2 separate regions of the Homo sapiens genome follow, and region 2 is linked to region 1. The links are contacts of gene promoters, found by promoter capture Hi-C in human tissues and cell types (Jung and others, 2019). All regions are on one chromosome and are shown on one strand. The core of a region is centred on a gene start or on the middle of the fragment in contact, and the rest is flanking DNA. Distances in the headings are between cores, read along the strand shown.

Evidence for each region. Contacts are between HindIII fragments. The study calls those that stand out against the background at their distance.
Region 2: a fragment that was not itself captured here is called in contact with the fragment with the promoter of TNFRSF10D in region 1 in 1 of the 25 tissues and cell types used here (spleen).

What each region holds. Positions count from the first base shown.
Region 1 is chr8:23,159,595-23,165,454 of GRCh38, reverse strand. TNFRSF10D (TNF receptor superfamily member 10d) reads left to right here and starts at 1,428. Exons shown (of 9, transcript NM_003840.5): 1 at 1,428-1,669. The coding sequence starts at 1,520. RefSeq lists an enhancer at 1,571-1,690. The HindIII fragment of the contact is 7,003 bases long and covers 1-3,537 here.
Region 2 is chr8:23,384,901-23,390,914 of GRCh38, reverse strand. All of the region lies in intron 1 of LOXL2 (lysyl oxidase like 2), which reads left to right. Among named protein-coding and RNA genes, the nearest start is that of LOXL2, 16 kb to the left of the region's middle. The HindIII fragment of the contact is 3,132 bases long and covers 2,919-6,014 here.

The DNA of each region.
Region 1 (5,860 bases), core at 179-2,678:
TTTTCACAGAGTCTCGCTCTGTCACCCAGACTGGAGTGCAGTGGCACGAATCTCGGCTCACTGCAACCTCCATTTCCTGGGTTCAAGCAATTCTCCTGCCTCAGCTTCCTGAGTAGCTGGGATTACAAGTGCCCGCCACCACGCCCAGCTAATTTTTGTATTTTTAGTAGAGATGGGGTTTAACTATGTTGGCCAGGCTGGTCTCGAACTCCTGACCTCTTGATTCGCCCACCTCAGCCTCTCAAAGTGCTGGGACTACAAGCGTGAGCAACCGCGCCCGGCCCTGGCTCACATTTCTGACCCTAGGTCATTGTCTGGGCCCTGGAAGGTGCTCAGGGTGATCCATCGCTCAAATCCAAGCCTGTGGAGAGGATGACATTTCATTCCCAGGTTTCTCATGAGCCAAAAAACCTTCATTTCTATAGCGCTATCCTCTTCTATCTACCATGTGAGGGGTCAGGAGCCGACTCATCCCAAGGGTCTAGGAGTCCTGCCATTGACCTTACTGCTTAGGGTCACAAGCTGGCACCCTTCAAAACCACACATTGGGTCTGCCCTCACAGCGGCAGTGTGTTCAACTGGATGGGGAGGTAAGTAGCCCAAGGTCAGACAGTTGGACCTGGGTAGACAATAGACTTGGGGACAGACTTTGGAAGGCACTCCCCTGATTCCCCTGTCTCCATGGGGCCTCAATACTAGAGCCCTCAAGGTTGGTCAGGGAGTGTTTGTGCTTTGACCATGCAAAGGGTGCCAGGTTGTGGCTAGGGATGCCCCCGGCGTTCCTCTCCCTCCTACCTACTCCTCAGCCTCTGCAGGTGCCTGTCATGGCCTCTGTGTCCTTCATTCTGTCCACTCATGTGTTCACTGGGCCCCTCCTTGGTGCCAGGCACCCGCTACTGAGGGATACCAAGCCCCTGCCAGAGAAGCTTGGAGCTGGGTCACAGCAGCAAGGAGGCTGGAGACATCAGTGGCATCAGTGCACTGGTCAGTGAGGCCGCTGTGGGAGGAGGGAGTGGGAGCAGAAGCTAAGAGTGGACTGAAGTCCTGAGGCCAGGAAGTAGTTCAGGGTTTAAGAAGAGGAGAGACAGGCGGCCCGGGGAGGGAGCAGGCTCAGGATGGGCCTCCAGTGCCTCCTCTGGAGCTCACTACCCAGACTACAGCAGCGCAGCGGGCAGCGCCTCAGCTCCTTCCCCTTCTGCTGCCTACAGCCTGGACAGGACCCGGAATCAAACCGCAGGCCCTGGGTCACCGCTGCCGGAAAGAGCCAGTTCCTGTCCGTCCATGCACCCACCCACACAACCTGGGCCCTCCTGGAGGTGCTGGGGGAGACCCAGCCTGAGTGCCTGGAAGTGACTGCGGGAAGGGAGTACAACTGACCACGCCTTTTTTCCGGGGTATAAAAGCGGAGGAGCACGTTCTATTCTGGCAGTGTAGCTGCGAGAACCTTTGCACGCGCACAAACTACGGGGACGATTTCTGATTGATTTTTGGCGCTTTCGATCCACCCTCCTCCCTTCTCATGGGACTTTGGGGACAAAGCGTCCCGACCGCCTCGAGCGCTCGAGCAGGGCGCTATCCAGGAGCCAGGACAGCGTCGGGAACCAGACCATGGCTCCTGGACCCCAAGATCCTTAAGTTCGTCGTCTTCATCGTCGCGGTTCTGCTGCCGGTGAGTCTCCGCCGCGGTCCCTGGCTGGGGAAGAGCGCACCTGGCGCCGGGAGTGGGCAGGGAGAGAGGGGGACACGGTGGGGATGCTTGGCCCGGGTCGCCTGCGGCCGGGCATGTCTGGGCAGGACGAACCCGCCGTCGGAGTCAGGGGAAGAGTGGGGTGCCCGGGCTGGGCAGGAGCGACCGGGCCGCGAGGGAGCAGAGCGCGCGCTCCCCCTGGCTGTCCCGTGCGGCGAGGACCGCACTGAGCTGCCCCAGAGGAAGTTCCAGAATCAGCGGAGGGAGGGAGTCAAGATGGAAACCCCGGAGTGAACCTCAGGAAGCCACAGAGCGGTTGCCTCTTTCGTTCGTTCGTTCGTTCGTTCGTTCATAACGTTAACCCAGGCCGGTCGCGGTGGCTCACGCCTGTAATCCCAGCACGTTGGGAGGCCGAGGCGGGCGGATCACCTGAGGTCAGGAGTTGGAGACCAGCCTAGCCACCATGGTGAAACCCCGTCTCTACTAAAAATACAAAAATTAGCCGGACGTGATGGCGGTCGCCTGTAATCCCAGCTACTCGGGAGGCTGAGGCAGAAGGAGAATCACTTGAATCCGGGAGGCGGAGGTTGCAGTGAGCCGAGATCGCGCCATCGCACTCCAGCCTGGTCAACAAGAGCGAGACTCCGTCTCAAAAAAAAAAAAAAAAAAAAAAAAAAAGTTAGCCAGGCGTGGCAGCCTGCGCCTGTAGTCCCAGCTACTCAGGAGGCTGAGGCAGGAGAACTGCTTGAACCCGGGAGGCAGAGGTTGCAGTGAGCCGAGATTGCACCACTGCACTCCAGCCTGGGCGACAGAGCGAGACTCTGCCTTAACAAAAACAGACAAACAAACAAACAAAATTAACCCTATGTTTACACTGTTACACGTGTTTCTTGGAGATCAGTTTAACAAACAGCCTGTGAAAAAGCTTTCCAACGCTGTTTTTTGTAACTTTCATTTCCTATAGAACCCTGAAAGTGGCAGGAAGCGGTTAACCAAGGTGCTTGCAGTCAGTGTCTTCCACTGCCACCCGTGTGTCCCCTCTGTATCCCATAGGCAGGACCGCGGGATGGCCCCTTCCTTAGGCATAAAAGATGTAAAGTTCTCGTTGTGAGTTGGGTTTGGAAACTGAGATTGGTAGTGGGGTGCACAAGAAGGACATAAAAATAAGATGTGCAGACTGCCAGGACTTTTTCTGAGTGACTGACGTTTCTGCCAACAGTGCTTTCTAAGGTTTCTTACGTAATACCAAAAAACAAAACGGGGAGGATAAAACAAGATTACATGAACCATGAGAGTCTCCATGTTTTCTTTCAACGAAGTAATACTAAATTCAGAACAGCAGTGACATTTTCACCTCTCAAAAATTACACAACTGACTTCTACAATAGTTTATAGTGGGTGGACCTACCTGAGGCAGCTAGAAGAATGGCTGTGTCAGGACAGTGGCCCTGAAGAGAGAATGTGTGGATGACCTGTGTAGACAAGACCAGCAACCTGAATTTCACAGTTTTGGGAATGTGAACTCTATGCGTCCCAAAGGAGGCTTTGATCCCTCCATCAATCTTGCCTTATTAAATGCATTTCAATGCACAGTTGCTTTTTAAAATTTTGGAGCTAGCACAAATCACATTAGATGTTTTATGGCAGTACATTCAGATTGATTTTCTTTTAAACAAGGGTATTGTATTTTACTACATGGGTAAGCCACAGGTTAATTCACTGTTGCCATCTAGAGGCAGCTGGTTATATCCCATCCCGATGGGATATAACCCAAAGCAAATTTGCCTTTGCTAATTCCAACAGCATTGTACTAAATACCCTTGTATGTATCGTGTGTCCACATGTCCATGCGCACCAGCTTATTGGGCAACTCCTTAGAAGTAGAATTTTACTTCTACTTCCGTGGGATAAATCATTTCAGAAGTTTCTTTAGATGTTTACGAATTTTCTTCCAAAAGACCATTGAACTCAGCTTACACTCACACCTAGTTCACACATGTGCCTGTATCCCTACACCCTTGTTACACTTAGCTTTCATTCGTTGCTAGTCTAGGAAGTAAAAGGTGATTCATCACATTGTTATGTACTTTCATTCCTTAATGGTATTAGGAATTTTCAAGGATACGGGAGTTTTGGTAGTGGGAGTAGATGACCGGGGGATCCAGATGAGACAGCAGGGGAGGGTGGCAGGGAAGACTGAATTCCCAGCTGTGAACTTGGAGAACCGTGGTCAGCTGGGGCCAGTCCCTGCCACCTGCCACGCCTGTAAATGGAGATAAGGTCTCCATCTTCAGGCTGTCAGGAGGACATCAGATGAGCCTGGAGCTGAGCTCAGTTCCTGACCCCAGGTCCTGGCTCTGTCAGCGTTGGACTGTTCCAATCTGTGTGACAGAGGCTTCCGCCCCGCCCTTCTCTTTATCAAAGTAGGAATCGAAAAGATCCAACGGCCCAGAATCTCGGACTCTGAGGCTCTCAAGGACTCCTGAGATTGGAGGCTGGGAACAGCTGGGCCCTGCTGTGCTTCCCCTCCAGCTCTGTGACACTGGTGTGGCCCCAGCTCCTGCCTGTAAAGTGAAGAGGAGATAAAAATCTTCAGCAGCCCTGTGTAAACCTCAGAGGGCTGTGTTAGCAGGTGTGGGAGGATGAACCACATCCTCAGGGCTGGTGTCAGTCACTCCGGACTGGATCCCCAGGGCACATGTCCTCCACCCAGCAGAGGCTGCACCTGTTCCTACTTGCACCTCCATACCAGGCTCCCTGGCCTTGGGGCAGAAGCTTCTGAAGACTGGGGTGGAGCACCATGTGGAGGGGCCATCGAGGAACAGAGGAGCCAGAGTTCAAGTGAGGACAGCGATGGCACTGCAGGGCCACAGCCTGGTTTACCTGCCAAGTTTCCAGTTGTGCTTCTGGTGGGTGTCCGGCCCGGGTTGGAGTTTGAAGATGAGCAGGAAAGGTCTCCATCCAGGTGGCTGCAGATGGCTGCTCACCCAGCCCCTACTGAGAGGCCACGGTCCCAGTTCTGGTTCTCTGTCCTGTATCCAGGAGTGGCAGGGTAGCGAGGCTCTAGCTTCCAGGTTGGGGATGGAGACAGTGGGGACAGTGCCATGCCCCGAGCCTGTGCTGTTGGGCAGCTGGTATCCTGCTCCCAGCCAGAGAGTGTACATCTTCGTGTAGTGGATTTTCCTAACAACCAGGGGACATGAGGGCAGGTTGTTTTCCCTGTTTTACAGGTGGCAAAATGAGATTCAGGAGCAATGTCTCCAGCATTTTTGTCCTCACCTTCTGAATAATAGCAGCCATATTTGGGCCTCTGAAGGGCTAGAGTTCTCTGAGGAGCTGCTTCTCTGATCTCTGTCCTGCACTTGGCCTCTGGGAGCTCCTATGGGTCCTCAGCAGAGTCCACAGGGCTCTTCGGAGTCCCCTCCCTGTGCCACAGCCTGGAGCCTGTCCTTAGGTGGTAAGCTGAGGCCGCCACTGCGCTCACCTCATGGGCTTGGGGGGAAAGTGAGTCACCCAGGAAATAGACAATGAGCTCTTTATTGTCTTTGGAGTCTGCTGGAGCCAGGGAGGACAGATGAACCCCATGTGAATCCTGCTTCCTGGAGCCCACAGTGTGGTGGGTGAGGTGACACCAGGAATCATATAACTAATAGGAGGTAGCATGAGGGAGGCCTGATATCTCACCACCATTGCCTCCCCCTCCTCCAGAGAGGCCGTGTTGGTGCAAGGCTATAGGATGTGGTATTGTTGGCGTGGAGGATGGTGTTTGGTTAGAGTCACCATTGAGAGTCATAGAGGGAAGCGAAGCTCCCCTTGAAGGGCTTTTTTTTTTTGGCTGGACCTGAGAATTAAATTGACATAAGACAGGTACACAGGAGAAAAGCACGTACGACTTCTTTTTTCTTGAGATGGAGTATTGTTCTGTCACCCAGGCTGGAGTGCAGTGGTGCAATCTCGGCTCACTGCAACCTCCGCCTCCCAGATTCAAGCGATTCTCCTGCTTCAGCCTCCTGAGTACCTTGGGATTACAGGTGCCCACCCTTGCGCCTGGCTAATTTTTGTATTTTTAGTAGAGACGGGGTTTTGTCATGTTGTCCAGGCTGGTCTCGAAGTCGAGCTCAGGTGATCCGCCCATCTCAGCCTTCCAAAATGCTGGGATTACAGGTGTGTGCC
Region 2 (6,014 bases), core at 3,235-5,734, 220 kb before region 1:
CCCAGCCTCATGGAACTGTCAGTCCATTACACCTCTTTTTCTTTATAAATTACCCCATCTCAGGTATGTCTTTATCAGTAGTGTGAAAACAGACTAATAAGGCATCCTTGTCTCTATCACTTTCTGAATTGCCTTTAAGCAAAATCACCAATTTTGGATTTTCCCTGCCCCTTTATGAGCTGCAGAGAAGAGATGTGTCTTATAGACTAATGTATTTGGCTTTTGCACTCTGATCCGATCTGAGAGTCTCTGGTAGGCACATTTTAAAGTCTTTGAAACTGTACCTTCAGCCTTCCCAGGAAACAGCCTGGTCAGAATGAGATTCCACCCAGAGCCAGCGGTGGGCTGCGGGGAACCCCCATTGGTCACAACAAATTATGCCAACAAAGACCTCTTTTTGGAGGCTGGGGGAAAAAATGCAGTTTTGTATGCTTACCTTCTCACCATCTCACTGTGCCCTGAACATTCCCACTTTGTGGCCAGAAATAGACGAGACTGAAGTAGACTCTTTGGCCAGGGGCCAAGTGGATCAGACAGCCCGGACCAAGCCTGGTGTTAAAGTCTCCATTCTTGTCTAAGGTGGTTCTAAAGGGTCCCATGGCCCCCGAGCCACTTCCCTCATTCTCTGAGCAAACCCCATTCAGCCAAGACAGCCTGTTTCCACAAAGGAATGTGTTCCCCGTGGGGCCAGAAGCAGCCCCAGACCACAGCTGAGATCGCCACTCCACAGTGTGCTCTGGGCCATGAATGAGGACCATTCATCTCTCCTGTTGGTCCAAGCAGGAATCCCAGGCAGGGAGGGTCTGATGGAGGAGAGAGACCCCACCCTAGCCCCTGACCCCAAATGTGAATGCAGGCATCTGGCAGAAATGTCAAGCGGAACATTCTGTCTGGAAGGAAGAAATTCAGCCGAGCTCTGGGCCACACTGTTGCAAGCAAGTGTCCTTGGCAGGGTAGGGCACTGTTCCTGGCTGAGAACTGCCAGGTTGTTTATGAGATGCTTCAAATCCGGGGCAGGCAGGACTGTTGCTGGGAGCTCCAGGGCACAAGATGTGGAGCCAGTGCTGGGAGGAATGAATCACTTCCCTATTTACTGGGGGCCTGCCGGAGGCCAGGCAAGCAAAGTGGGGTCCCATTGAAGCCTGCTTTGTGAGAGTCCTATGCCCCACATACTCATATTAGGGAAGGGGACAGTTATGAGCATCACATCAGGATCAGGTTGTGTCAGGGCACTTGAAAATCTAAAAGCATGATGTCCAAACACTGTATAATTTTTACAATGTGTTTTCCCCTTTATCTGTGCATGACTAGGAATTTTTATTGCTATTGGCAATAAAAACAATTGTTGCTATTGACTAGGAATCAGTTAGTCACATGGGGCATTATTCGACTGCGTGCCACAAGGTCAAGTGTCATTGATCAGAGGTCATGTTCTGGGTTTCTCCTGTGTTTAAGAATGAACTAGGAAGCCAATTGTCCTTGATTTTCCAGAAGGTACCATTAAGCAGGTGAATTCTATAACACAGAATGCCTTTTTAGGTGGATGATGAAATGATTCAAAACGGATTGCTTTTGGAGGAAGAAAAAAATTTCAGTAGCTTCAATAAAAATCTTGATACTGGAGAGTTTTTTGGAGTAGGCCTTTCACATTCCTTCCTAGGCAGACTGACTCAGCTATCAAGGTAGTAGCCTAAGAAAAGGACACTAAGAAAAGGACCCTAGAAAGGCCAGTTTTACATTTTCTTCTTTTCCTCTGTTAGCTCTGCTGGGTCAAAATTAAGTGAGGCTTCATGAAGGATTTTCAAACACTCATCCATTATCAGGACAATACTACTACTGGGATAAGAAAAATCAGGGATTCTGGAGTGTAGCAGAAAGTTCTTAGGGTGACAGGTGCTTCAAGGGCTAACAATGTCTTCCAATGAATGATGCTTGTTGGACAATTGTAACAGTACTGCTTATGACCAACTCAGAACCTTGAGTAAGTTCAAGGTTCTGAACCTCTTTCTCTCCCTCCAACCCAGCCCTCTTCCCCAGCTCTCAGCAAGATCAGCAAGCACTGGCTGATACAAGCCCTGCTTAAAAGTCTTTTTTTCCCCTACCCTCCTTAAAAGCTTTACTTGCAGACTTGGCACAATTTTGCACATACCTAATGTATACAGTATATGAGAAGACACCTTTTTATTTAGATAATTAAGCTTTTTGCTAATATTGTATATTCTTTGGAGTAAATGTACATTTCTAGTGTGTGTGTGTGTGTGTGTGTGTGTGTGTGTGTGTGTGTGTGTGTGAGTATATTTTTTGCTTTTTGTTTTTGTTTTTCTTGGAGACAAGTCCCAGCTCTGTCGCCCAGGCTGGACTGGAGTGCAGTGGCACAGTCACTGCTCACTGCAGCCTCAACCTCCTGGGCTCAAGTGATCCTCTTGCCTCAGCCTCCCAAGTAGCTGGAACAATAGGCATTTGCTACCATGCCCAGCCAATTAAAAAAAAAAATTTTTTTGTAGAGACAGGATCTCCCTATGTTGCTCAAGCTGGTCTCAAACCCCTGAGCTGAAGCAATCATCCCACCTTGGCCTCCCAAAGTGCCAGGATTACAGGCATGAGCACCCAGCCCATTTCTAAATTTTAAGTTGTTGCAAGGTGCGGGATCCAGAAGGAACTACCTAGGCTCAGCCTTGGCAGCTCACAGTTCCCCAAATAACACCTGGGGAAGCTGAAGATCAAAATTAAATGTAAGCAACTGCATTATGCAGCTTAGTATCACTCAGAACTGTAGTTGGTGCCTGAATAACCTGACTCGAATCTAGCAGGCAGCACCTGTTTGAACCAAGATATATTAGCTGCTATTTTTATTGGCCACCTGCTATGGTCTAGGAACTTAAGAAGCATGATCTTTGATTTTTACAACAGGCCTGAAAAGATGTTTCATATTTTTCCTTAAAAAAGTTTTTTTGTTTGTTTGTTTGAGACAGAGTCTCGCTCTTGTCGCCCGGGCTGGAGTGCAATGGCGTGATCTCGGCTCACTGAACCTCTGCCTTCCGGGTTCAAGTGATTCTCCTGCCTCAGTCTCCCAAGTAGCTGGGATTACAGGTGCCCACCACTATGCCCAGCTAATTTTTGTATTTTTGGTAGAGATAGGGTTTCACCATGTTGGCCAGGCTGGTCTCGAACTCCTGACCTCCAGTGATCCACCTGCCTCAGCCTCCCAAAGTGCTGGGATTACAGGCATGAGCCACCGTGCCTGGCCTAAAAAGTTGTTTTTAAGTACATATTGTTTCCATTTGGTAGATGAAATCCTGAGACTTAGAAAAATCTAAGTGGGCCTAGGTCACAGAGCTAATAAGCTAAGAAATAAGATTTGAACCAAATTCTGCATGACTAAGCCGCTAGTCCATGCCGTTTATGGTCAGTAAAGAGGTGGCAGAGCATCCCGCCTGTTTTTCCTGGAAGGGTGTGCTGTGGGCTGTCTGAGTGGGCCCCTGCATTGGGAGGTGCCCGAGACCCTGGGGAGGGTAAGCTGATCCCACCTGATGTTTATAAGGAATACCTCGATCCCCGAGTCCCTCTAATGTGAAGGAATTCTTTCCTGATCTCTCTCTGATACCCCCCGAGGACACAGTGCCTCTTGTTGGCAAAGCTTATACTAGAATCATCTGTGTGAATGTTGTAACCTTGAATGGACTGCATTGAATGTAAGAGGGTTCTCAGCCGTGCAGTCAAAAGCCCAGTGAGACCATATTGGGGGATAATTTCTCCCTTTCTGAAGAGCCAGGCACAACCAACTTTTCCTGGCAGTCTCTGGCTTTTATTTGTGTCAGTCAGAGACTTCAGTCCTTCGGCACCTTGCCTTGTCCCTTTAATTACGACCCACTCCTGGGCTCAACTGTGTGAATAATTAAGGCCATCTGCCACGGCAGCTCCCAGACCTCACTCAAACTAGGTTTGAACAGGATACTCTCCAAGGTGGGCCTCTCACCTTGACTTATGCCTGCAATCCCAGCACCTTGGGAGGCCTTCCCCTTGCGGACCCTTGCGTGCCTGTGAAAGCCGCATTTATTTGGAGCGTGTGGAGGGAGCTACGGAGATCCTTGGCCTGATTCTCCCATGTTCTGCTGACCCAGTTGGCAGATGCTCTCTGCTTGCATTCAGCGTAGAGGAGGGTCCTGGAATTTCCATGATGTGGACTGAGGTGACTTCACTGGAGCAGATGCTTCTTAGACTGTCAATGTTGAGACACCCTTGGAGGTCTTCCAAGGTGAATGCTGAGAATAGATCTGCCTGTTTTCTAAAAACTCTCCCCACTGTGGTATCTCCACCAGGCTTTTTTATTTCTTTTGTGAAATTAAGATCTCTGAGCAAGGACTAATAGAACAGGTATGGAGAAGAGAAATGTGTCTGCCATATTAGTCTAGATGTCCTCAAATGTCTGGAAGGGTAGATGGAGAACTTACATATTTGTTTATTCTAAGACATCGTAAGAGACACAGAGCACTTATATTTTGTTCTCTTTCTTTCTTTTTTGGAGAGGGAGTCTTGCTCTGTCGCCCAGGCTGTAGTGCAGTGGCATGAGCTCAGCTCACTGCAACCTCCACATTCAGGGTTCAAGCAAGTCTCCTGCCTCAGCCTCCTGAGCAGCTGGGATTACAGGTGTGTGCTACCACGCCCGGCTAATTTTTGTATTTTTTAGTAGAGATGGGATTTCACCATGTTAGCCAGGCTGGTCTCGAACTCCTGACCTCAACAATTAGTGAATAAGGGTGTCTGCTCTGGTATCTGGCTGGCCTGGTTACAAATTCCAGCTTGATCACTTTTTAGCAGTGTGACTATAGGAAAATCATGTAGCCTTTCTGTCTCTCGGTTTTTCCTTAGGAAAATAGGGATGCTGATAATACCTTGCTCAGGGGGTTGTCCAAAGCTGTGTTGTGCAGTATGGCAGCCACCACCATATGGGGCCACCAAACACTTGCAATGTGCTGCTTGGAATTGAGATGCGCTGCAAACGCAAAGTACGTGCTGGATTTCAAAGACTTAGTACAAAAAGAAAAAAGAACGCAAAACATCTCATTAATAATTTTTGTATTGATTCCATATTGAAATATATTGCATCAAATAAAATATATCTTTAACATTGATTTCATCTATTTTATTCTACTTTTGGAAAGTGGCTACGAGGGAATTTAAAATTTCATATGTGGCTCTCATTACGTTTCTGTTGGGCAGTGCTCATCCAGACGAGAGGATGAAATACCTGTCTTAGCACTTCTCACATGCTGATTGATACTGATCAAAATCAGATTGATACTGATTAATGATTAATAAATATAAGTTCTGTTTTACTTTTAAACATCCAACTTTGGCTGGGTGTAGTGGCTCATGCCTGTAATCCCAGCACTTTGGGAGGCTGAGCCGGGCGGATCACTTAAGGTCAGGAGTTCAAGACCAGTCTAGCCAACATGGTGAAACCCCTTCTCTACTGAAAATACCAAAAAAAAAAAAAAAAATTAGCTGGGTGTGGTGGTGTGTGCCTGTAATCCCAGCTACTTGGGAGGCTGAGGCAGGAGAATTGCTTGAACCTGGGACGCAGAGGTTGCAGTAGGCCGAGATCACACCACTGCACTCCAGCCTGGGCAACAGGAGTGAAAAGCTCTGTCTCAAAAAAAAAAAAAAAAAGAAAAAAAATCCAACTTTCTCTTCCACAGAAGCCCACCTTCAACACCAGCCCATGTGGTGTCCAGGTTGCTGTATAAAAGTAGAGGTGATCCTGTTCGAACAGGACGGGGGCGCAGGGAGTGGTAAATAAATACATAAAACAGGCAGAGAATAGGAAAGTCTTTATATCCATAGTTGAAGGAAACTGCTGTGGAATTGCTCCCTCCAGTCTTTGCACGATAAAATTACCAGAACCCCAAAGGTTACAGCAAATTGCCTCTTTGCACCTTCTAATTCACTAATTCACTGTCCATGTTGAATGCTGGGAAAGCTGGAGGCTTTTTGTTTGTTTGTTTTCTTGAGAC